Linked DNA regions of Homo sapiens: all the other regions are linked to region 1. The links are contacts of gene promoters, found by promoter capture Hi-C in blood cells and fetal thymus (Javierre and others, 2016). All regions are on one chromosome and are shown on one strand. The core of a region is centred on a gene start or on the middle of the fragment in contact, and the rest is flanking DNA. Distances in the headings are between cores, read along the strand shown.

The links. Contacts are between HindIII fragments. The CHiCAGO score rates a contact against its expected background, and 5 or more counts as called.
Region 2: the fragment with the promoter of ZNF582 here is called in contact with the fragment with the promoter of ZNF547 in region 1 in 8 of 17 cell types (naive CD8 T cells, naive CD4 T cells, total CD4 T cells and 5 more); the score reaches 16.3 in naive CD8 T cells.
Region 3: the fragment with the promoter of ZSCAN22 here is called in contact with the fragment with the promoter of ZNF547 in region 1 in 1 of 17 cell types (neutrophils); the score reaches 5.7 in neutrophils.
Region 4: a contact is called between a fragment that was not itself captured here and the fragment with the promoter of ZNF547 in region 1, in 1 of 17 cell types (fetal thymus). The highest score is 5.3, in fetal thymus.
Region 5: a contact is called between the fragment with the promoter of ZNF8 here and the fragment with the promoter of ZNF547 in region 1, in 1 of 17 cell types (non-activated CD4 T cells). The highest score is 5.8, in non-activated CD4 T cells.
Region 6: a fragment that was not itself captured here is called in contact with the fragment with the promoter of ZNF547 in region 1 in 1 of 17 cell types (non-activated CD4 T cells); the score reaches 7.5 in non-activated CD4 T cells.
Region 7: a fragment that was not itself captured here is called in contact with the fragment with the promoter of ZNF547 in region 1 in 3 of 17 cell types (naive CD4 T cells, non-activated CD4 T cells and naive CD8 T cells); the score reaches 7.3 in naive CD4 T cells.

What each region holds. Positions count from the first base shown.
Region 1 is chr19:57,362,061-57,365,399 of GRCh38, reverse strand. ZNF547 (zinc finger protein 547) reads right to left here and starts at 1,849. Exons shown (of 4, transcript NM_173631.4): 1 at 1,697-1,849. It overlaps TRAPPC2B (trafficking protein particle complex subunit 2B), which reads right to left and starts at 1,849. Exons shown (of 2, transcript NM_001355204.2): 1 at 1,697-1,849; 2 at 1-585. The coding sequence starts at 566. The coding sequence ends at 144. RefSeq lists enhancers at 1,797-2,176, 2,217-2,296. The HindIII fragment of the contact is 1,910 bases long and covers 558-2,467 here.
Region 2 is chr19:56,391,673-56,395,011 of GRCh38, reverse strand. ZNF582 (zinc finger protein 582) reads left to right here and starts at 1,478. Exons shown (of 5, transcript NM_001320371.4): 1 at 1,478-1,792; 2 at 3,180-3,268. The coding sequence starts at 3,260. ZNF582-DT (ZNF582 divergent transcript) reads right to left here and starts at 1,336. Exons shown (of 2, transcript NR_037160.1): 1 at 959-1,336. The HindIII fragment of the contact is 9,401 bases long and covers 1-3,339 here.
Region 3 is chr19:58,325,307-58,328,645 of GRCh38, reverse strand. ZSCAN22 (zinc finger and SCAN domain containing 22) reads right to left here and starts at 1,652. Exons shown (of 3, transcript NM_181846.3): 1 at 1,532-1,652. It overlaps LOC105372480 (a long non-coding RNA gene), which reads left to right and starts at 1,398. Exons shown (of 3, transcript NR_144444.1): 1 at 1,398-1,823; 2 at 3,285-3,339. RefSeq lists enhancers at 1,352-1,681, 1,025-1,767. The HindIII fragment of the contact is 13,061 bases long and covers 1-3,339 here.
Region 4 is chr19:58,307,208-58,310,546 of GRCh38, reverse strand. All of the region lies in intron 2 of ERVK3-1 (endogenous retrovirus group K3 member 1), which reads right to left. All of the region lies in intron 5 of ZNF8-ERVK3-1 (ZNF8-ERVK3-1 readthrough (NMD candidate)), which reads right to left. Among named protein-coding and RNA genes, the nearest start is that of ERVK3-1, 3.5 kb to the right of the region's middle. The HindIII fragment of the contact is 5,065 bases long and covers 1-3,339 here.
Region 5 is chr19:58,277,375-58,280,713 of GRCh38, reverse strand. ZNF8 (zinc finger protein 8) reads right to left here and starts at 1,759. Exons shown (of 4, transcript NM_021089.3): 1 at 1,567-1,759. The coding sequence starts at 1,632. It overlaps ZNF8-DT (ZNF8 divergent transcript), which reads left to right and starts at 1,972. Exons shown (of 3, transcript NR_187495.1): 1 at 1,972-2,191. ZNF8-ERVK3-1 (ZNF8-ERVK3-1 readthrough (NMD candidate)) reads right to left here and starts at 1,748. Exons shown (of 7, transcript NR_144447.1): 1 at 105-1,748. It also overlaps a transcript of ZNF544 not described here. RefSeq lists enhancers at 1,164-1,213, 1,634-1,683. The HindIII fragment of the contact is 22,069 bases long and covers 1-3,339 here.
Region 6 is chr19:58,225,712-58,229,050 of GRCh38, reverse strand. It overlaps ZNF544 (zinc finger protein 544), which reads right to left and starts at 137. Exons shown (of 7, transcript NM_014480.4): 1 at 105-137. RefSeq lists an enhancer at 1-261. The HindIII fragment of the contact is 1,137 bases long and covers 1,240-2,376 here.
Region 7 is chr19:58,200,170-58,203,508 of GRCh38, reverse strand. All of the region lies in intron 4 of ZNF274 (zinc finger protein 274), which reads right to left. Among named protein-coding and RNA genes, the nearest start is that of ZNF274, 19 kb to the right of the region's middle. The HindIII fragment of the contact is 4,047 bases long and covers 1-3,339 here.

The DNA.
Region 1 (3,339 bases), core at 600-3,099:
AATATAAAAGAAATTTCATTAAGTTTAGATAAGCTGAGAATACACAAAAGATTTCCAGGCTATTTAATCAAGTAATTTACAATGTACACATTCCTGAGTATACACCATTGTGGTGATATAATTTATTTTGGAATTTTCTCCATTCAGCTTAAAAGGTGTTTCTTCCCAAGAAACTGAACTTTTCTGTCAAATGCACTTGATCGAATAGGAGAATTGGGTTCATAAAATGGATTCATTGAAAATTTTATATATAAATCATAAACATCAGTAAAGAAGTTCTTTATTCCATCTTCTTGTCTTATGTCATGAAGCATAATAAACCTCATATGCCCCGCGGTGACAAATGCTGACACAAACCACTCGTTGAACTTGTCCACAGTTTTCAAGTACATGTTGTTCGACAGCCACATGTTCTCATCTACGAGGTCGAGAGCAGCATGAGCTATGAACTGGTTCAGATGACGATGGTCGTCTTTGGATTCTGCCTTCCCAGCTGGCAAAAACTCCATTTCAAAAACTGGATTATCATGGTGACCAACAATTACAAAGTAGAAGCTTCCAGACATGGTCTTCAATATATGGCTCCTGCAGCGGGAGGCCGACAACGGAAACGCAATGTCAGTTTCCGCGGAAGAGACCCGCGCTCCGCACCTTTTTTTGACACGGAATCTCGCTCTGTCGCCCAGGCTGGAGTGCAATGGCGCGATCTTGGCTCACTGCAATCTCCACCTCCTGGGTTCAGGCAATTCTCCTGCCTCAGCCTCCCGAATAGCTGGGATTACAGGCGCGCGTCACCACCCCCGGCTAATTTTTGTATTTTTACTAAAGACGGGGTTTCACCATGTTGGTCAGGCTGGTCTTGAACGCCTGACCTTGTGATCCGCTCGCCTTGGCCTCCCAAAGTGCTGGGATTACCGGCGTGAGCCACCACGCCCGGCCACCCTCTATTCTTTTGAAGAATCTACACCAGTTCTCCTCTGTAGACTCCACACCTTTCTGTCCCCCTACCCATGTGACATTTTCAACTTGAGACGCCTGAGAATCACACTGGCCAAACTCCAACCCATGATCTTCTCCATGAAACCTACTTCTCATGCTGCTGACTTCCCCAACTTCATTCTTTCAGATGTTCGGGCAAAAAAAAAAAAATGACCCTTCACTCCCTATTTTTGCTCACAGACATATCTGATACGGCAGGAAAACCTGTTGGCTCTATCTTCCAGGTCTATCCAGAATCCCATCACATTGTCCCTCTTATACCACGGCTCTGGTGCAGCCTCTGGGATCCACTGCAGTGGCCTCTTCTGGGTCTCTCTGTGTCAATTCCCCATCCTGCTCGTTCTAACTCTGGACCTGCCCCTCCCACTGGTCTTCCCTTGACAACCTTCCATGGTTATACCGGCTGCTCAGGCTGCCATTCCAAGAGAAAATTCACAAAACCCTCTCTTTCCCGCAGAAACAACCCACACTCCGGGCTCCCCGACGCGGCCCACTTGGCAGCACCTCCATGCTCTGAACCTGAGATCCCCGAAGGGAGCTCTGAGGCTGCATCAAACCAGCTGATACGGGGACCCCACACAGGAACGCCCCTCTCTTCGAGACAAGGGGCCTGACCTGCAGGGCCCCTTCTATGGGCTTCAGCACTGGAAGGAGGGGTCGGGCGGAGGTGGGGGGGGGCCTGGGACGGGGCACCCACCTCGGGTTCTTCGGCGGGGACTCCGCAAGTCCAGCCAGGGAAGAGAGGGGCGGGGGCGACAAAGGCAAGACAAGGACACCGCCGTCCCCAGTCCTTGTCAGCTGAGCTTCTGCCACTGTCAGTTGTGCCTGTGTCACTACCGCCTCTGCGTACAAGGAACCAAGCCGCTTCTCGCGCTTTTCCGCTCCGTCACTTCGGTGACGTCATAGAGCGCCAAAGGCCGGAACTAGTGAAAACACCAGAGAAAATCAAATCAACCACGGCAAGAGGACGCCGGAAGTCCCGCCCTCCTACGATGCGCGAGCACGAGGACGGACGCACGCACGCACGCACGCACGCAAAGGTTCCTTCCTGCACATTCATTGGGTCAGTCGCGCTGCCGAGAACCGCAGTGTCTTCTGGGTTATGAAGTTTCGACACCGCTTCTGGACTTGCCTTAGAGCGTTGGTCAGTCCTTATATGGCGGATAGAGGCTCAGTGGCACCGTCAGGGGAGCTGGTAAACAGAGTGCCGGACTCCACGGACAGGACGGGGCTTGGGTTGCTCTTAAAGGCGACATAACCAGATTTTCTTGAAGTAAGGTCTAGGATACTCACAGAAATGTGAGGGACCTATGATATCGGATTGTGAAGCACAGCAAGTTCTCAACGGCTACACCGCCAAAGGGACACACTATACCACAAAGGCACTCTGTCTCTACTCATGCCTCTCAGCCATATGTTGCTTTTCAAATACACATACAGTTAAACTTTGACTTCTATTTATTAAGCTTCAATATGGTTGGTCCAAGAGAACAAAGAAAGACTACATGGCTGGGAATTTGCACAAAAGAAGACAGGAGATACCGACGTAGATTGAAAGGGTGACGCTGTGCCTCTGGATCCAGAAGAAAACATCATTACTGTCTGTAGAGTCAGTGATTGTGTTCCTACCAAGAGTGCAATGCTTTTATTCTAATAATACTTATTACTTCATGTCTGAAATATTTTACATTTATTTTAAAAGTCTCAATCCTGTCTGAAAATGAGAGTGACTGATACATGCCATTTCCTGACAGGACATTTTGTGCCATTCCATAGTTGGAGTATATGTACACAGGGAACGTATTATCCCCAATAAAAACTGTGAACTTTCATGATCTTATCTCCTTCCTGAGAAGTGAGTTATCATTTTACAGGGAGTTGAAATTATCTGTGAAAATACTTGTGAAATGAAAATTACAGAAATCTATTAATAATAACTGTTAGGTTTTGAAGGGAAGGCGAGGGTTAAAGAAAGGCAGAGTTGGCAGCTCTACAGCAATGCAGGTTTTATGTCCAGCACGAGACCTGTGATGGGGAGAACTAGCTTAGTGCCAGAACCCCTCACTGCTTACAGGCTGGGGCAATTATAGGCCTGGATGAGAGGGGTCAGGGGTGGGGGGCAGGGGGCGCGGCGGGAGGGTATGACTTGCTGCCCAGGAGGATGGTGGGTTTTTTTTTGTTTTTGGAGGAGTCTCGCTCTTGTCGCCCAGCCTTGAGTGCAATGGCGTGATCTCGGCCCACTGCAACCTCCGCCTCCCGGAGTTCAAGCGATTCTTGAACTCCGCCTCCCGAGTAGTTGGCTTTACAGGCGCGTGCCACCACGCCCGGCTAATTTTTTTG
Region 2 (3,339 bases), core at 229-2,728, 970 kb after region 1:
CTGAAGTTGTCTTTTAATATCAGTAATCAGCAATAACCAACCTCTGAGCTTTGCTTATATTATTAAATCATTTTATTTGACCCTCAGGACAAAGCTGCAAGCCCAGCATTACATTCTTCCTTTTATGGACAAAAAAAAAAAAACAAAACAAAACCGAGATAGGCACGAAGAAACTAATAAATGGCTGAAATGCTATTTGAATCCACATCTGTCTAATTCTAAAAGTGTGCTTTCCACCACATCACCGCACCTACAAGGAAAATGCAGCCTCTACCCTCTCCTGAAGAATGTGTAAAGAGGCAATATGGTGTGTTTTGGAAAAAGCATCTTTGCAGAAAGAAAGCATTAGCTTCAGTCATATTAGCATCCTTATCCAGCAGCAGTAGCATTATTTTACATATCAGTTACTCCTCCCCAACAACTCAATGAATTAGATGCCACAATCATCCTCACTTTCAAATGTGGAGACCGAGGCACATCTCTAAGACTGGAGTTCAGGCATTCTGGCTCCAGTCTTAGAGATGGTTAAGGGTTCACACTCTTAACCATTTATTACACCATAGAGCTCACCAGGTTTGAGGGAAACAGGATCAAATCAAAAGAGTCACTCAGGACTCCAGTCCTCACTCAAGGACAAACTGTTCCACCTCGGACAGGGAGAGTTTCCGCATTCTGAGACCCAGCATAACAGGTCCTGACCGGCATCTGGCACTCGGACTCCCAATCATACTGGATCACACTGGCTCGGGATGTGTAAAGTCCAGGGCTTCTCACATTTGATGACACCAAAGCCGCCTAAAAACAAGAGAGAATTAACAACTACCTACGGCGGTCTGATATTTGCCCAAGAGATGCCGCCCCATAAAACTCCTTTACATCTTTATAACGTTTTTATTTTGCGTTCTCCTTCATAACCCACATTTAACTCACCATAGATGTAATGTTTAAAATTAGTTACCAGATAAACTCTTACGCTTCCAAACTTTAAGGTTCCTTCGAAACCTTCTGGTAAAACTGTTGTTCCACGGAAATGGGAACGTAACGGATGAGGCAATCTTCCACAGCCGCACACAGTTGTGTATCCACCGCTAAACGGTCCCAGTCATACATTCAACGACCCACGCGGAGTCAGAAGCTACCACCACACACTGTCAAAATCACGCACACACAGTGACGGCCCCTTGCCCACTCGGTCACTCGCCCACAATCTCTCGCTAGAGAATCACACGCAGATAGCACACCCAGCACCACAGACCCCAGGAAGCAACCCAGGGACTCGAACACACGAACAGCACTCCTCCGCGCACTGCGCAGGCACGCCTGCGTCCGGCTCACCCTGAAACATCGCGAGATCCGGCTTCAAGGCCGGGCTGCTGCCTTTACGCCTAAAGACTATGTTTCCCGGAAGACACTGCGGCGCCGGCCCTATCATGGCGCAGCATCGGTGTGCTTTGTGCGTCTGCGCCATCTTCCGGCTGCGCACGGCGAATCCACCGGTACCGTGGTGGAAGCGCGCCCTGGGCTGCCGGGGGCGCGGCCGCGGTGGCACTTGGACCCGAGGAGGCGGCAGGTGAGAGGTTCCGGAGCTTTCCAGGCGCTCTGGGGTCCAGCAGGAGCTGGTGCCCGGGCCGGTTGGGTCTCAGGCCTGAGAAGAACGCAGACGTCTCGCCTCATCGTCGCTCTGTGGCTTTACCGGCGTGAGACTACATTTCCCGCCGGCCCTCGCGGCGTGCGCTTTCTGGCGCCCCCTTTCTGCTTCCAGCCTCATAGCCCAGGTGCATGGACCCCTTAGGTGGGTGCGCAGGGGTCTCCGACCCCCTGAAATTGCGGATGTTTTGCATTCACTGTTATGCGTGCCTTTTTTTTTTTTTAATCTGAGAGGAAATCTTGTTTCATGAGGTTCTCAGAGAGTTACAAGACCCCAGAAGACTTAGAACCGCTAGTTTAGAAAAACTTATACTTGGGAACATTTTATATGTTCAAATTCTATGTCCAGCAATGGGGAAACACTTGAGTGGATCACAGGCCATCCTTTGTAAATAGGATATCGTGCAGTTAATACAAATAATGCTTATAAAAGTGGTCATAATAAGGAAAAGCTGCCTATTACATCATATTAAGCAACATTCATAATTATTTCACTTACACGTTACTTAGAACCAAATGTTTGTAATGCAGTAGGCACCTTATATACTCCTTTACAGAGTACTTCTTGTTTAACAGTGAGCTCAAGAACTGGTTAAATGACAACACTGCGAATACTTGGGTGTTTTTTCTTCCAATTTTTTTGTTTTGTTTTGTTTTTAGCCTGTGTGTTAGTGAGTTTGACTTCTTTTTGCTGAATGTTCTCAAAGGATTCAGTAGTTAATATCTTTGCTTGTCAGTTTTTGATAGTCATTTTTGATAGTCACTTGGCATCCCATTATATGGCTGTGCCAAAAATGATTCAACCTCTTGGCTACTTGTGGACTTGCCTACTTACGTACTAATTTTCAGTTCTCCTATTTAGCAAATATTATTGGACATGCAGCTTTGTGCACTGCTGTGTCTCTATGGAAGGACACATTTATGTGCTGATAATGGAGCACTGGGCGTGCTGTGTGTAATTTGTCTCTTACTGTTCCTTCCAACTCTATCCCATTTGTTGATGCAAGGCATGCTCCATGAAGTGGCATGCACAAAGCCTCAGTTTGGGCTGTAGAGCTTTTTGTATATTTGGCGGTTGGGAAAAGAGCCAGGTAGACTTTCAAAGGTGTTATATTTGCTGCAGGAGAGAGTTAAATGGCCTAGTCCTGGAAAGGCTTTATTCTAGGCTGGGGCTATGCAAATGATGCAGGCCTTCTATGCTCCCTGGCTTGAGGGAAGCCCTCCTTGTCCTTGAGGTAACATGTGGGTCTCAGTCACTAGAACAGCCCTCAGCATCCCTGTCTTAGACTTGCATTTGCAGCAAAACAGAACCACTGGATGTTTAGGGGAAATGGGAGGGAAAGGACCACTGGTTCCCCTTTGCCTTGCAGCAGCTAAAGCTGGTTTCCTGGGGTTGGGTGAGGATCCCTTTGCCTCCCCCTCCTTCTCATTTTCTTGGTGGGCAGAGGGCAAGCAGGTGGGGACTTGTAACTTGGCATTCTAGGAACTGTGAGGCAAGCCTAGCCTCTCATGTTTGCTCTTTCCTCCCCCAGCTCTACCGTCGCAGGACTCTGCCCTTCCCCAAGAGAGGAACCAGAAGGAGGACCTATCAGCCCTTGAAATTCTAAAAGTCATGTCCCTTGTGAGTTTTTAAATCCCATAAATATTTGCTTTCCTTATCTTGAAACTTTCCACCTGGGTTCCATCCAGAAA
Region 3 (3,339 bases), core at 403-2,902, 960 kb before region 1:
CCTATCAGGTTGAGGTTCCCCATCCACAGCTGCTTTACCAACCAAGGAGGGTGGTTCTTTTCATTTCTCACACATGGATTATACCAAGCCTGATAATGGTACCTACCTCAGAGGGTTGCTATGAGATTATGTGAGGTGATTTATTATAAGTGTCCAGCACAGGCCTGGTGCACAGTAAACATGCAGTAGATGTATGGATACCATAGCCCCCTGCTACACGTAAGCAAACACTGGGGGACATATCCATAAGCCCAGCTGAATGACCACTAGTCACTCAGTTTCAGCTGCAGACATGGCAAAGCACAAATCCTCTCTCATATGCTTGGTAAACTGTTTGTGGATCACCCAAGTTTTAGTCTCCCTGATAAAAATCTCAGTCAATCAGATATTAACACATATTATCTCAGGTACAGTCTGTCAGCCACAGCCTTCAAAATACCCAGACACAGGAAATATCTCAATGTCACCTATAATCAGTCAAATAAACACAGGCCTGGCCAGGCATGGTGGCTCATGCCTATAATCCCAGCACTTTGGGAGGCCTAGGCAGGTGGATCACCTGAGGTCAGGAGTTCCGGGCCAGCCTAACCAACATGGTGAAAGCCCGTCTCTACCAAAAATACAAAAATTAGCCAAGTGTGGTGGCCGGTGCCTGTAATCCCAGCTACTCGGGAGGCTGACGCAGGATAATCGCTTGAACCCGGGAGATGGAGGTTGCAGTGAGCCGAGATTGCGCCACTGCACTCCAGCCTGGGCAACAGAGCAAGACTCCGTCTCAAAAATAAACACAGGCCCTCGCAGCATTTCCATCACACAGTATTATTCTGATCACAGTCATTCATAATCTTAGTCACCATCTCAAGGACACACAAAGAAAATCAGTCACACTTGAAATCCCACCGTCACACGCTCACCCTCTCACAGTATCTCACAACCCACGTAGGAAGTCTCAAACGGCAACCATCTCTGTCAGTCACACACTCCATGGTTAGTGTTACACTCAACCTATCAGAATCACACACTCCAACCCGTCAGATACACACACCCAAGAGGTGTCAGACACAGAACCGCCTATCAGACACATAAACGGGTCCGCCCCACACCCTCCCAGGCCACTGGTCCTACATTTTATCTGTTATCTGTCCGCCCGCTCCACACTTCGTCCGCCCCACACCCGGTCAATCAGTCCATCCGACACACACTCCGTCAGTCCGACACATTCTCCGTCGGTCCGTCCGGCACTCAGTGTGTCATTCCGCACCACATTCGGTCCGTGAGTCTGTCCACACCGGGTCCGTCAGTCCGTGCACACACGGTCCGTCCACGCCTGGTCCGTCAGTCCGTCACATCCTCTGCGCGTGTGTCCGGCACTCGCAGTCCGTCTACTCACGTCCCCTAGTCAGCCTCTCACTCTCTACCCGCTGGGCGGTACCCCGCATCTCGCTCTGGCCGCCCCAGAGGTTCGCGGCTTCTGGACCTGCTGTGCCCCTCTCCAGCCTGGATCAGGACGGAGAACACCCCCGAAACCCACCTCACCAGCACAGCCGGCGGACCCTTCCGGAGGTGGCCGCAGAGACTAGCCAACTTGCGCGCCCGCCGACCCGGACCACAGCTCCCAGCACACCTCAAGGGCCCACGCCCGCCAGGACTACAATTCCCGGCGTCCTCCGGAAGCTCAAGTGTACCCAGGCGCGGTGCCTGCTGGGAATTGTAGTTGACGTTGGTCAGCACGGAGGCCACAGGATCCCAGCCCGGCCTTTGTGGGACTGAGGTGGCGCTGAGTGGGAGAGCAGCAGGCGATGCGCGAAAGGCGGGACTTGGAGGTGAGGGAAATGTGAAGGCTGAGGGTGAGAGTGCCTGTGTGAGGCTGAGGGTGCCTGTGTGAGGGTGAGGGTGAGGGCGGCTGTGTGAGGGCTGAGGGCTGAGGGTGCCTGTGTGAGAGCTGAGGGTGCCTGTGTGAGGCTGAGGGTGCCTGTGTGAGGCTGAGGGTGAGGGCGGCTGTGTGAGGGCTGAGGGTGCCTGTGTGAGAGCTGAGGGTGCCTGTGTGAGGCTGAGGGTGAGGGCGGCTGTGTGAGGCTGAGGGTGGCTTTGGGAGGGCTGAGGGTGTTTGTGTGAGGGGTGAGGGGTAAGGGTGAGGCAAGAAAATCGGGTCTGGAGGCAGGGAACCTAAGGACTTCCTAGAAGTAAATCAAATGGAAACTGCAGCTATGGTAGGAAATATCCTCTCCATTTATGCAGGGCGTACATGGAGTAAATCACTTTGTAACTTTACTTCGTCCTCTTCATTTACATAGGGCATATACCAAGTAACCAATGGAAACCTCTAGAGGGTATTTAAACCCCAGAAAATTCTGTAACCGGGCTCTTGAGCCCCTATGCTCCGGCCTGCTCCCATACAGTGGAGTGTACTTTCATTTTCAATACATCTCTGCTTTTGTTGCTTCATTCTTTTCTTTGTGCATTTTGTCCAATTATTTGTTCAAGATGCCAAGAACCTGGACACCCTCCACCAGTAACAAGGGTACCTGGGTGAGAGGTGAGGGTGCCCATGTTAGGAGTGAGGGGAGAGGGTGCCTGTCTGAGGGCTTGTGGGTGTGAGTGTCTGTGTAAGTACTGAAGGTGCCTTTGTGAGAGGTGAGCGGTGTGGTTGCCTATGTCAGGGTGTGTATTGAGTGTAGCTATGTGTGGCTCTCTGTGAACACATGTAATCATTTTTATAAATGTGTATCATTTTTTACTGAATTTGAGCTGGGCGTCTGTCTGCATGAGTCACTCTGTGACCAGGTTTGTGGGTTGTTCTGTGTGCTTACTCTGCGTGTGTGTGACCTGTGATTTAATCATCATATGTGATAATCATGCAGCTGTGTTTGCCTGCACCAGGTGTAATTGTGTCTGAGACAGATACTTAGAGGTAATGGGGTGGACCTGACACAGTATAAAGGCCCTAGACTGTGTGTGATGTTGTTACGGTGACTGTGAATGGTAGTGTGATTGTGTGATTCAGTCGATGCCTGGACTGTGTGTGAGAATGTATCTTCTCTGTGTGTGTGTGTATGTGTAAGAGACATTGAGCAGGAGACTCTGGCTTGGGGCCCGATACATAGAGGTTGGTGGCCCAGCCTATGTTCAGGTGAGGCCTTTTTGAGGCAGGGTGTGTATGATTGCTTGGTGGTGCTGGTGGTGTTTCTTGGCCCCAGCCTGTGCTCACATCCCCTATTATTCTCAGACTTTGCCCTGCAGACTGCTAGCAGCTGGAATGAGCATATATTCTTTTCCTTCCACAGATAAATACTGAGCACCCACAACAGGCAGCCAGCACCACTGCAGATTGGATACTGC
Region 4 (3,339 bases), core at 401-2,900, 950 kb before region 1:
CCTCGGCTGCCAGGCAGGGAAGGGCCCCCTGACCAGTGGACACATGACCCACGTGACCTTACCTATCATTGGAGATGACTCACACTCTTTACCCTGCCCCTTTTGCTTTGTATCCAATAAATAAGAGCGCAGCCAGACATTCGGGGCCACTACCGGTCTCCGCGCATTGGTGGTAGTGGTCCCCCAGGCCCAGCTGCCTTTTATCTCTTTGTCTTGTGTCTTTATTTCTACACTCTCTCGTCGCCGCACACAGGGAGAGACCCACCGACCCTGTGGGGCTGGTCCGTACACTCTTGATAGTGGCAGTTTTAATGCAACTAGCTACATTTACGACATAGGCTGAATTACAGACAATATTAATAGGAAATAAAGCTGTGAGCTTTAAAACTTGAATAACTGCCATTAATTCAGAGTGTTGAGCTGAAACTCTAGGGGTCTTTATTATTTAAGTATATTTAGGTCCATAAATGGCTGTGTGGCTTTTGGAAGAGCCATCGGTAAAATAGGTCTGTCCACCTGAAATGGGTTTGTGATGAGCAATCACAGGGGGAATAAAAGGGTGAATTTTATAAAACTGCAAAATTTTGTCTGATGGATAATGGTTATCTATTATTTCTACAAAATCTGCGAAAGTGATTTGCCATGCAGTGGACATCTCCCAGGCCGCAGCCTGTTGTTGGGAATCCAAGGTAACAATAATTTTATCAGGATCATATCCTGTAAGCATTTTTGATCTATGCCTGCCTATTGTTATAAGTTGTGTGACTAAAGCAAGATAAACTTGCAAAGATTTTACTGTTTGACTGGATAAAAAAAGCCATTCTATTACCATTATAGTTTTGTCTATGAATTGAGCTAAAAGTCCTGATGGAGAATGGGGGGTAGGAAGAATAAACAAAACCAAAGACTTTTGTGGTTGTAGCCAGGAGGCATGTCGTTGCTGAAGCATCTTTCTACAAGCTGTAATTCAGCTTCTGCCTCCTTAGTAAGTTGCCGAGGGGAATCTAATGAAGAATCTCCTTGGAGGGTTTGATAAACATGAGTGAGTTGATAAGAAGCAATACCTAGCATTGGGCGCAGCCAATTAATATCCCCTAAGTTATTCAGAGTTTGTAATTTGTTCTTACGAAGAGCTACTTTCTGAGGCTGAATACTTTTTTCAGTAACAGTAGTATCTAAGTATTGGTATGAGGAGGTTGTTTGTACCTTTTCAGGAGCTATTTTGAGATTCCATTTAGTTAAAGCCCATTTTATTTCTCTGAATAACTGGTATAATACTTGATCTGTAGGAGTGGCCAAAACAATATTATCCATATAATGAATGATGTAGGTGGTGGAAAACATATTCCGAGGCTCCTTCAATGCTTTTCCTACAAAATGCTGACATAACGTAGGACTGTTGAGCATGCCTGGGGTAATAAAACTTTTCATTGATCACAAGAGACAGGCTCTCTCTGATTAATAGAAGGCACAGAGAAGGCGAATTGAGGCTTGTCCTTCTTGTGTAATGGTATAGTGAAAAAACAGTCTTTAAGATCTATTACTACAAGAGGCTAATCTCTTGGAATGGTTGCCGGGGATGGCAGACCTTGCTGTAATGCACCCACTGGTTTAATTTGTGCATTAACAGCTCTCAAATTATGCAGCAGTTGCCATTTTCCTGACGTTTTGGGGGTCACAAATACTGGTGAATTCCAAGCACTAACTGATACTTTTATATGTCCTGCATCCAATTGCTTTCTTACCAGCTGATGGAGTTGAGTCAGTTTTCTCCTGTGATAGGGGCCATTGATCCACCCACACAGGTTTATCAGTCAGCCACTCTAGCAGCAAGGCAGTGGGTGGAGAAGAAGTATCAATGACCCCTATCAGAAATCCTGATGACCTAGCCCTTTCCTATCTGTTTGCCCAGTTACCGATACCGGACCGGGGTTTCCCTGTAGGAACTTTCCCAAGCCTTTCCCACTCTGATATCCCATTTCCTTCAATATTTTAAATCCTGGATTATCAACCTTTTCATTTGTAAGTCTCACATCCCATGCTGTAAGTAAATCTCAGCCCCAGAGATTAACACGTATATTTGCAACATAAGGTTGAAAAGTACATGGCTGTCCATCTGGACTGACACAAAGTAAAATTTCAGCACTCTGTTAAACACTTTGAGCTGTTCCTACTCCCACTAAGGATGCAGAGGTTAGTAGCAGGGGCCAATTGTTTTTGGATATTACTGAAACATCTGCTCCTGTGTCCATACACCCACAACACTTCTTTCCTTTAATTTGCACTGCACAGGTGGGTCAATTAGAAGCTATGGGTTGGGATAGGTAAATTTCCTGTGTAGTTGTACTCCCAAATTCTTGATTTCCTCTTTTCTCCTTTCGTGAAGAAGGGTGTAATTTGCAGAGAATAATAATAAGCAATAGCTGAGCAATATATTTCCCAGGTTTAAAAACCCAAAGATCTTGTGACATTACAATTACTTGAATTTCTCCTTCATAATCAGAGTCAACAATCCAGGGATCACAGTAATGCCCTGTAAGTTCAGATGGCTTTGGCCTAAAATTAATCCTGTATATCCTGTTGGCAAAGGTTCCCAAATGCCTGTGGGAATTCTGGTGGGTTTGTCTCCTCCAACTAACGTGACCCATTCTCTGACTGAGCGATCTAATCCTGCACTCCCCGGTGTTCCAGAGGAGAGGGAGTCAATGTTCCTCCAGGAACCCACCCCTGTAGCAGGGTTGTGGCCTGGATGGGGAATGCCCTCATTGTTTGAGGGGCCCAGGCCCCATTCTCATTTCCTGAGAGCGGGGTGCCATTCTGATGAAATTTTGAGCAACACTGATTAGCCCAATGATTTCCTTTATTACGGCGAGGGCAAAGTCCTGGTGTTTTTTTTTCTGTGTGTGTGTGTTGGGGGGAGCGGGGCGGGGAGGGGGGGGCGGTATTGCATTGTAAGATCCCTTCTGCCCAGAGGTCTGATGGTATTCTTTTTTGAAATGTCCAATTTTTCCACAATTATAACATTTTCCCACTTTAGGGCTCAACCCTTGGCCCTTTTCAGATTTGTTCACTACTAAATTAGCTATTACTTGAGCTAACACAGTTGAACGATGGAGTTCAGTTCCCACATCCTGACAGGCTTTGAGAAAATTTCCCAAGCTGTTTGTACATCTCACGGGTGCTAATGCACATTTACAATCTGCATTTGCATTTTCAAAAGCTAGGGTCAAAGTAAGCATTTTCGCAGGAGCAGTATGAGGAATCTGATGCCTCACTGACTGTTGTAACTGTGCAATAAATTGTGCAAAGGGCTCCTGTGATTTTTGCATGATATGCGGA
Region 5 (3,339 bases), core at 510-3,009, 920 kb before region 1:
ATTTCAGACTTCTGACCTCCAGAACCTAAGAACAAATGTTTTAAGCCACAAAATTTGTAGTGAATTGTTACAGCAGACACAGATAACCAGATAAAACACTGGACCTTGAAGCTCTCCATTCTGGTCCTTGTCTCCTGTGATGGACAGTCTCCAAGATGCTCCCCCACCACCTCTGCCAATGACCTCCAGCCCTGGTGTGGTCCCCTCCAACACTCAACAAGGTTGACTTTGTAACCAGTAAGACACCGTGGAAGTGACAAGAGTGTGAATTCTGAATCCAGGTCATGGAAGGTGTTACAGTTTCTACCTTGCCCTCTCCTGGATCACTTGTTCTGTGGGAAGCCAGATGCCATGTTGCAAGGATCCCTAGCAGTTCCAAAGAGAGGCCTACATGGAGAACAACTGAGGTCTCCTATCAACAGACATGTGAGTGAGCCATCCTGGAGGTGGATCCTCCAGACTCAGGTCTCAGGTGACAACAGCTATGCTGACATCTTCACTGTAACTTCATGGGCCTGAACCAGAACCACCAGCTAGGACATTCCATTACTCCTGTCAGAACTCGTGAGATATTTATTGTTGTTCCAGGTCACGAAGTTTTGAGTTACACAGCAACAGGTAACTAATACACTTTCTCTCAAGCCTTTCTTACGACTCATTCCTTGTCCCCCATCCACAGCAAGAACAAAATAAAACGTGGTAGCATTTCATGCAAATTTGGAGCAACACACATCTGAAAACCTGCAACCTAAGATTATCAAGTCTCACTTTGTGTACCAAATCTGAAATAATGCAAATCCCCATGAACAAACCAACGACAAAAAATAAAAAAAAGTATAATTTCAAAGTTGCAGAGCTTGAGGAAGGATAATTATTGTTGTTTCCTGCCACGCGAGGCAGCTTTATGGAGAACACAGGCCGCAACCACTTTGTCTAGAAAGTGGAGCTCTGATGGCCAGATGGCCCTGCAAACACTGACCGCCCTGCACTGCAGTTCTCCCACAGTCTCGCAGGGGACGACCCTGGTGGTCACTCTCATCACACTCAGTGCGTGGTGACCCATCATTGCCCCCAAGAGGTTGTGCCCAAGCCCCAGGGCAGGGGCTCCGCGGTGCTGGGGTCCCGGTGGGTGTCCGCTGACTCCACGCGTTAAAGCATCTCTATTCGATGATTCTTGCCATCTGGGCACCCGGCCAACGCTACAATTACTGTTATCAGTCAACACGAGGACAGACCTTCCTGGAATGGGCAAGGGTGTCGGCGGGGCGGAGCAGAACGCAGGAGATGGGCCTGCTCGATTCTCTCGGGAATGACCGACCCCAGCCCTGGGGAGGACAGAGCCGCGTGGAGCATGCGCATTCGGGGGCCAGGCGCCTGGTTGGAATCCCGGCCCCCTCTCTGACCAGCCAGGACGGTCACCACGCCCCGACCCGCGTCTGAGTTTCCCCACGTGTCAAGGGCATTAACAGCGGTGCCGCTCTCATCGCGCCGCGAGGTGAAAGGGTCAGTCTGCGCGGGAGACGCTTGCCCGGAGCCCGCCGCCGTCGTTATTGTTGTTATTGTTACCTGAAGCCGGGCCGCCGGCGGCCCCACAGACATCACTCCCGCTACCCCTTCGTCCTCGGGGTCCATGCTGGATCGCCCAGTGAAGGACAGCGCCTGAGGTGATCCCCAGACCAGAGAGGCACTCCAGCCAAAGGGACCACCCGACTCGCCGAACGCCGGACAATGGCGGCCGCACCGGCGACGCGGCGACTACAACTCCCAGTAGGCCGTGCGGCGAACCACAGCCCTCGGCCAATGGGAGTCTCCGCTGGTCTGGCCTTCGACCAATGGAAGCATTATGGCCGATGGCCAATGGGAGCCCCCACCCGCTGGCCTCTGGCCAATGGGAGCACTCAGCTAAGGCTGGTGGGGGCGGTGTTGCTCGGGGCTGCGATGCCCCTTAGGTTGCGGGCAACCAGAGGCCTCACTCGTGGGCAGGAAGCAAGGGCGGACCCCGAGAGATGACTGATTGTGGGGGTGGGGACCGTCTGCTCCTCCTAATGGCTGGGGACCGTGCACGTCTGCGCGGGCCGGACCTGCTCTTCTCGGGAACTTGCGCGGGAGGAGGCCCGGAGCTGCGCCGCTTTACCCTCTGCTCCCCGGTGCCTAAAACGCACACGCATCAAAGTCACAGGACGAGTTAGAGGTTTGTTCATATAAAAGACTTTGGGCTTAGCGGCTGGAAGCGGGGAGGCTGGGAGCGGTGGTTGTGTTACAGGAAAGGGGTCCGATTCAGACCCCAAGGGAGGGTTCTTGGATCTCGCGCAAGAAAAAATTCAGGGCGAGTCCGCAGTGCAAAGTAAAAGCAAGTTTGTTGAGAAAGTAAAGTTGTGAAACAGCTACCCCATAGACAGTAGGACGTTCCTGAAAGTAAGAGGAACGTATGCACCCTAGGTACAATGCTTGTGTATATTTGGGCTAAAAATAGATTTTGGGGAGATGTGCTCTGCTACAAGGGTTTGTGAAAAAGGATTAATTTTCTTACTGTATTTTTCAAGAATCGATATTATTTTTAAAGCAAAATTAGGAATGCCTTTGTTCTCTAGATACCGGGATATCTGGACACTCCCAAGTCTGGGTCTGTTTTAGTACCCATTATTAATTTGTTCCCTTAACCGTAAACATCTAGAGGTTAGGAATACCTACTTTTCTGGGAATGCAGCCCAGCCTCATTTTCCTAGCCCTCACTCAAAATGGAGTCGCTCTGGGTCGAATGCCTCTGACAGCCCTATTGCTTCTCCCTGTGGGTGTTCACTTTGTGATGTGTCTTTTTCTGTGGGTCTGTTGTAGTCCATTAAAATGTTTATTAAAGGTCGGGCGCGGTGGCTAACGCCTATAATCCCAGCACTTTGGGAAGTCGAGGCGGGTGGATCACGATGTCAGGAGCTCGAGACCAACCTGGCCAATATGGTGAAACCCCGTCTCTACTAAAAATACAAAAATTAGCCCGGCGTGGTGGCGGGCACCTGTAGTCCCAGCTTCTCGGGAGGCTGAGGCAGGAGAATCGCTTGAACCTGGGAGGCGGAGGTTGCCGTGAGCCGAGGTCAGGCCACTGCACTCCAGCCTGGGTGACAGAGCAAGACTCCGTCTCAAAAAAAAAATAAAAAGTTATTAAAAAAGAAAAATGGGGAAGCAGATTTCCATTCAAAAATGTTGCATTCAAACCACAACAATTTTTAACTTTTTTAAATTTTACCAAGAGCCAGACACATAGCAGGGAACAGTATAGTTACTTGTTATTTGCTCACCCCCATGGGGCTGATGGTGTAGTCTGAGGGACTGAAGATCAACCAT
Region 6 (3,339 bases), core at 559-3,058, 860 kb before region 1:
GGCACGCCCAGATCACTTGGGGCGGCTCTGGCCTGGTCCTGCGCTCCGGCCGCACCCGGCTAACAGTGAAACCTCCGAGCCAACCTTGAGGCCGCCAGACTCACCTGCACGCACCGGCCAATGGCGGTGCTTCCGGTGGCCGGCGGACGTGCCCGCGCTCCGCGCAACAAACAACTCCCAGAAGGCCGCGCGCCGGTAGCCGTTGCTCCCACAGGCATAGTCATTGCCGGCGGGAGCATGGGGCCCCGCGGCGGCGGGATGAGCTTTTTCCTGTGTTCGCGACTAGCATTGTGGCTTAGGGAGTTGCTTCCCGCGGCTCTGCTCCTTGCAGCGCCTGTCCCCTCCCCCTTAAACGGGCCACGCTGGTTCTCATCCAGCAACCGAAGCCGAGACTGTGGAGGCGGCGGTCGGCGTCCAGGGCGGGACTAGCGCCTATGGGGCTCGGCGCTGTCATCTCGGGTGCCTTCCCGGCGCCTTGCCCTGCTGGGGAGAGAGACCAAGACTGAGCCATGAGAACAGTCCAAGGCCGTTAACCGGGAGCTCAGGGGCAAGGGCGCCCGCCAACATCTGCGCCTGTGGCAGGGACTCAGGGACAGCCTGGGCGTGGGGACGCGTCCTAGTGATAGAAACAAAGCCCCGGGAGTGCCCTGCTTGGAGCATTCCGAGTGGAAGGTGGAAGCACGCTAACTGGAGGCGATTCGTCCTAGGTGATCGCTCAGTCGAGCCTATTTGGCTTTCTGTGGTAGCTCCTAAGTGGGACAGGGAAAAAAATAGGGAGGCTGGCAGTGACCAAGTTCTGTTTTGTACCTATTGCTGCAGAAGTTGTGGGACAGAGTTCTGTTATTATAAATGGTCTGATGTTCAGTCTCAGTGCGTTGTGGGGCTCAATGTCTGAGACCCACCACCGCCTGACCCGTCCTGGCTCTTCAATGAGGGAGACCACAGGAAACTTTCCTACGAAGGCCAGGTAGGCGGGAACCACTGTGGCTCAGGCACCCTCAGCTCCTGGACTGTGCTTTTGTGTCTGGGGTGCATCTGTGACTAGCCTTCCTTGGCTTGACTGTTTTGTAGCTGACCTTGTCGATAGCTTTACCCAACAGTCATCATCTTTTTACTTGCTTATTTTCATACCTGGCTAGCACGACCCTGCAATTTTTAGATTCTTCCGGGAAATCTAGAATCTAACTCCCTAAGGGAGGATCTTGATGGATTCTAAGCTAATCAGAATGGACTCAAGCTTCTTGCTGTGTGAATTAGGCAAGGATATTCTGGCCAAGGAGAAATAAGGCTGCTAGGGGTTTCCTGGGAAGGTTCCCTCAGTCTTTTTTTTTTTTTTTTTTTTTTTTTTTTTTTGTGAGACGGAGTCTCGCTCTGTCCACCAGGCTGGAGTGCAGTGGTACGATCTAGGCCCACGGCACTCTCCGCCTTCCGGGTTCACGCCTTTCTCCTGCCTCAGCCTCCCGAGTAGCTGGGACTACAGGCGCCCGCCACCACGCCCGGCTAATTTTTTGTAATTTTTCTTTTTTAGTAGAGACGGTGTTTCTCCCTGTTAGCCAGGATGGTCTCGATCTCCTGACCTCATGATCCACCCGCCTCGGCCTCCCAAAGTGCTGGCATTACAGGCATGAGCCACCGCTCCCGGCCGGTTCCCTCAGTCTTAAAAGTGGACATAAGATAGCAATGTGTCTTCTTTTGCCCCTGGACCGTGATGTCTGTATGTGATGTGTAGGACAATTACAAGCACACTGGCACCATGAGGAAGCCACCCCAGGAGGTAAAGGCAACATGCTGAGAATGGCACAGCAGAAAAATGGAAAGAACCAGTATCCATGATGGAATGAATCCTCTTTGTGCCACTGAATCAACATTGCCTATGCTCACCTCAGGGACTTTTCATTATGAGATAATAAATGATCTTGTTTGTTTTTATTATAGAAAATTTCAGGCCAGGAGTGGTGGCTCACGCCTGTAATCCCAGCACTTTGGGAGGCTGAGGCAGGCCGATCACGAAGTCAGGAGATCGAGACCATCCTGGTTAACATGGTGAAACCCCGTCTCTACAAAAAATACAAAAAATTAGCCGGGCGTGGTGGCGGGAGCCTGTAGTCCCAGCTCCTTGGGAGGCTGAGGCAGGAGAATGGCCCTGAACCCAGGAGGCGGAGCTTGCAGTGAGCCAAGATCACGCCACTGCACTCTAGCCTGGGCAACAGAGGGAGACTCCGTCTCAAAAAAAAAAAAAGTTCAAGTAAATAAGAACTTTGATGTTACATTTCTGTTTACTGTTTCCATGTCTGTATCAATAATGGAGTCGTCTGAGGAACAACTTTCCCTACATCAGTGTTTATATTATTCAGTTTTAGGCTTAGTGCTTAAGCTTAGTGATCGCCTTTTGTAGGATTGTGTCATAAGAGCAAAGAATGACCATATATTGTTACATTAAAAATGTTACCTTTGGCTGGGCACAGTGGCTTATGCCTGTAATTCCAGCACTTTGGGAGGCTGAGACAGGTGAATCACCTGAGGTCATGAGTGCAAGGTCAGCCTGGCCAACATGGCGAAACCCTGTCTCTACTAAAAATACAAAAACTAGCCAGGTGTGGTGGTGGGCACCTGTAATCCCAGCTACTCAGGAGGCTGAGACAGGAGAATGGCTTGAGCCCAGGAGGTGGAGGTTGCAGTGAGCCGAGATGGTGCCACTGCACTCCTCCAGCCTGCCTCTGACTCAAAAAAAAAAAAAAAAAAAGTTACTTTTACCTTGATGTCTAAATAAAAGGGAAGAAAATCTTTTAAAAGTTATGGCTGGGCACAATGCCTCACACCTGTAACCCCAGAACTTTGGGAGGCTGAGGTTGGAAGATCACTTGAGACCAAGAGGTTGAGGCTGCAGGGAGTGATGATCTTGCCACTATACTCCAGCCTGGATGACAGAGTGAAACCCTGTCTCAATTTAAAAAGTTCATTGGCCAGGTGCGGTCGCTCACGCCTGTAATCCCAGCACTTTGGGAGGCCAAGGCAGGTGGATCACGAGGTCAGAAGATCGAGACCATCCTGGCTAACATGGTGAAACCCCGTCGCCACTAAAAAATACAAAAAATTAGGCCGGGCACGGTGGCTCACGCCTGTAATCCTAGCACTTTGGGAGGCCGAGGCGGGCGGATCACTTGAGGTCAGGAGTTCAAAACCAGCTTGGCCATCATGGTGAAACCCCGTCTCTACTAAAAATACAAAAAAATTAGCTGGGCATGGTGGTGTGTGTCTGTAATCCCTGCTACTCGGGAGGCTGAGGCAGGAGAATAGCTTGAACCCGGGAGGTGGAGGTTGCAGTGAGCTGAGATTGTG
Region 7 (3,339 bases), core at 510-3,009, 840 kb before region 1:
CCTCCCGGGTTCAAGCAATTCTCCTGCCTCAGCCGCAGCTGGGATTACAGGCGCCCACCGCCAGGCCCAGCTAATTTTTGTATTTTTAGTAGAGACAGGGTTTCGCCATCTTGGCCAGGCTGGTCTCGAACTCCTCACCTCAGGTGATCCGTCCATCTCGGCCTCCCAAAGTGCTGGGATTACAGGTGTGAGCCACCGTGCCCAGCCCAATTACAGCTCTTAAGGCTTGAATTTTTCCTGAGAAGCAGCTGGGGATAAGATTTACTGGAGGCCCAGCAGCACCGGACTAAGTGCCTAGGACATGGGACATGCACCAACTGAATCTGTACTTCCTGGGGGGGGGCTAAGTGGCAGACCAGCACTGGGCCACCAGTACTATTTTAGGTAACCATGCATGACACTTAAACATCTTAAACGTTACTTCATAAATTTCTAAAATTTCATTTTTGTATTCCTTAATCGAGGGATTTTCATGCCTTGGCCCCTAGGAAAACAACTGTTGGATTCTTCTACTCCACCCCACCCCTTTCTAATGTACTTACTTCTGCTTTAATCTTTATTATTAACCCATGAGGCCCCACACTCTGTTCTGTACACAGTTATCATAAAGCACCTTTTGCATGCTGTGGAACCAAGGACACCACAGTGAACAGAGAGACCACAAACCCAGAAACTGGTGAGGAAGTGATGGACTCATTCTGTGCACCTCAGTCCTCCAAATGTCAACCCATAGACTATCCCAAGACCTTTAGGGCAATCCTTACCACTGTCTATTGCAGGAAATTAGCTGCTCCACTTCATGGAGGAGAAAATGGAAGCTCTTAAGTTCACCACCAGGCAGAGGTGGAACTGGATTCTCATTCCACCCATCTCATTCCACAGACATGACTGACCCAACCCACTCATGTGGAGCTGCATAATCCCTATCAGCTGGAGCTCCAAATGGCTTTCAGTCCAGCAACTGAATGAGCCCGTAGCAATGTAGTCACCTCACCTACAACTGTCTGTCTAATGGGTTGTGAAACAAATTCACTGAGGCTCAAAGCAAGGGGTTTAATCAAGAGAGATTAACTTCTTGAGCCTGAGTTTCTTCACCCAAAGTGATGAGATACCAAAGTCCAGGCACAGCATGTGGTAAGGGCTTGATGGGAGCTGCTGCTTTCTCCCTCTTGACACTATTTTCTTCTCTCAGGATACTTCTACCTCTCTGCTGCTTCCCTTCCAGGGTGACAAACAGGCCTTAGGCAGCTGTCTTCCTCACAGTGCTGTTTGCCAGTGAATGCTGATTAGCCAGGTATACCAGTCCAAAATATAACGAAAAGCAATGATCTTTTTAGCAGCTTGTGGGGGAAAAGTCAGAAGAGTACTTACCCTCAGCTCCCCTAATCCCTGGGCACAGTACCCCATCACTTTTCCTCCTTGTCTGGAAAGCTCTCAGCTCTCCTGTTCTCTCTCATCATTCCCTCAGTGCCCCTAAGCTCCCTGTTGGATTACCTTCTGCATCTGTCTCCTCCAGTGTACCACTGAGGCTGCCAACTGGGACTTGTGGATCTCACACCCCTAAGTAGAGGATCTGCCAAAGGCTGCTGATCATCTTTACGTTACTCAGTTTTTGAATCAATGACAGTACCATCATTTCACGAAGGCTGCCCACAGTCCCAGGAAGCAAATGTACACCATACACAAAAGAAATATGCCTGGTGCGGTGACTCATGCCTGTAATCCCAGCACTTTGGGAGGCCGAGGTGGGCAGATCACAAGGTCAGGAGTTTGAGACCAGCCTGGCCAATATGGTGAAACCCCGTCTCTACTAAAAACACAAAAGTTAGCTAGGCGAGGTGGCGGGCACCTGTAGTCCCAGCTACCTGGGAGGCTGAGGCAGGAGAATCACTTGAACCCAGGAGGTGGAGGTTACAGTGAGCTAAGATCACACCACTGCACTCCAGCCTGGGCGACAGTGCAAGACTCCATCTCAGAAAGAAAAAAAAAAAAAAGAAATTCATGCTGGGATAGGCTAGGAACCCTGCCCAGGGTTGCAGAGTGGATGATCCGGTTTGGTTCTGTGTCCCTACCAAATCTCAGGTTGAAAAGTGATGCTGTGTTGGAGGTGGGGCCTGGTGAACCTTCAAGAATGGCTTAGCACCATCCTCCTGGTGGTTAAGTTAATCACACGAGATCTGGTTGTTTAAAAAAGTGTGGCCGGGCAGAATGGCTCACGCCTGTAATCCCAGCACCTTGGGAGGCTGAGGTAGGTGGTTCGCTTGAGCCCAGGAGTTCTAGACCGGCCTGGGCAACATGGCAAAACCCCATCTCCACAAAAAAAAAAAAAAAAAAAAATTAGCCAGGCGTAGCGGCATGTGCCTGTAGTCCTGGCTACTCAGGAAGCTGAGGTGGGAGAATCGCTTGAACTCAGGAAGTCGAGGCTGCAGTGGGTCATGATCGCACCACTGTACTACCGCCTAGGTGAGAGTGAGACCGTGTCTCCAAAAAAAAAAACAAAACAAACAAACAACAGTATGCGGCACCTTCTTCCTCTCTCTGGCTGCTGCTTTTCCCATGATGTGCCTGCTCCCTGCCTTCCACCATGAGTAAAAAGCTCCCTGAGGCCTCCCCAGAAGCCAACCAGATGCCAGTGCCACCCTTGTACAGCCTGCAGAACTGTGAGCCAATTAAATCTCTTATCTTCATAAATAACCCAGTCTCAGGTATTTACAGCAATTTAAGAACGGCCTAACATAGTGGGCAACAAAGGAGCCGGGTTCCAAACCCTGTTATTTCATGTCCTTGACGCTAAAGGGGTCTCCCACAGCCACCATCTTAGTTTTCCTAGAATATGGCCTTTCATCCAGAGATCCACATGTGCACCACCCTCCTGCCTGGTATAGTCTTCCCCAACATCTTCGCCTGGTTCACCTTCCCCAACATCTTCACCTGGTTCGCCTTTCCCATTCAGGTCTGAGCTCAAACGTCACCTCCTCAGAACCATCTTCCTACTTAGTTCTGAACTACTGCTGCCCACCCGTACCTCGCTTGTCCCCCACCAATGTATCCCATTGTTTCCTTCTCTTTCCAACACTCATTACCATCCCAAATATCTGATTCATTAATTTATCATGTCTATCACCCTATCTAGAGCAGTGCTGTCCAATGGAACTTTCTATAAATGAGATGTTCTAGATCTGTACTGTCCAACATAGTAGCATTAGCTGCAGGGCCAATGAGCAGTTGAAAGGTGCCCAGTGCAATTGAGGTACTGAATGGGCAACTTCATTTTTGTTGATCCAATCAGCCATGGAATGGATGTAGGCCCAATGAAAGCAGGTGTAAGACCTGCCCCAC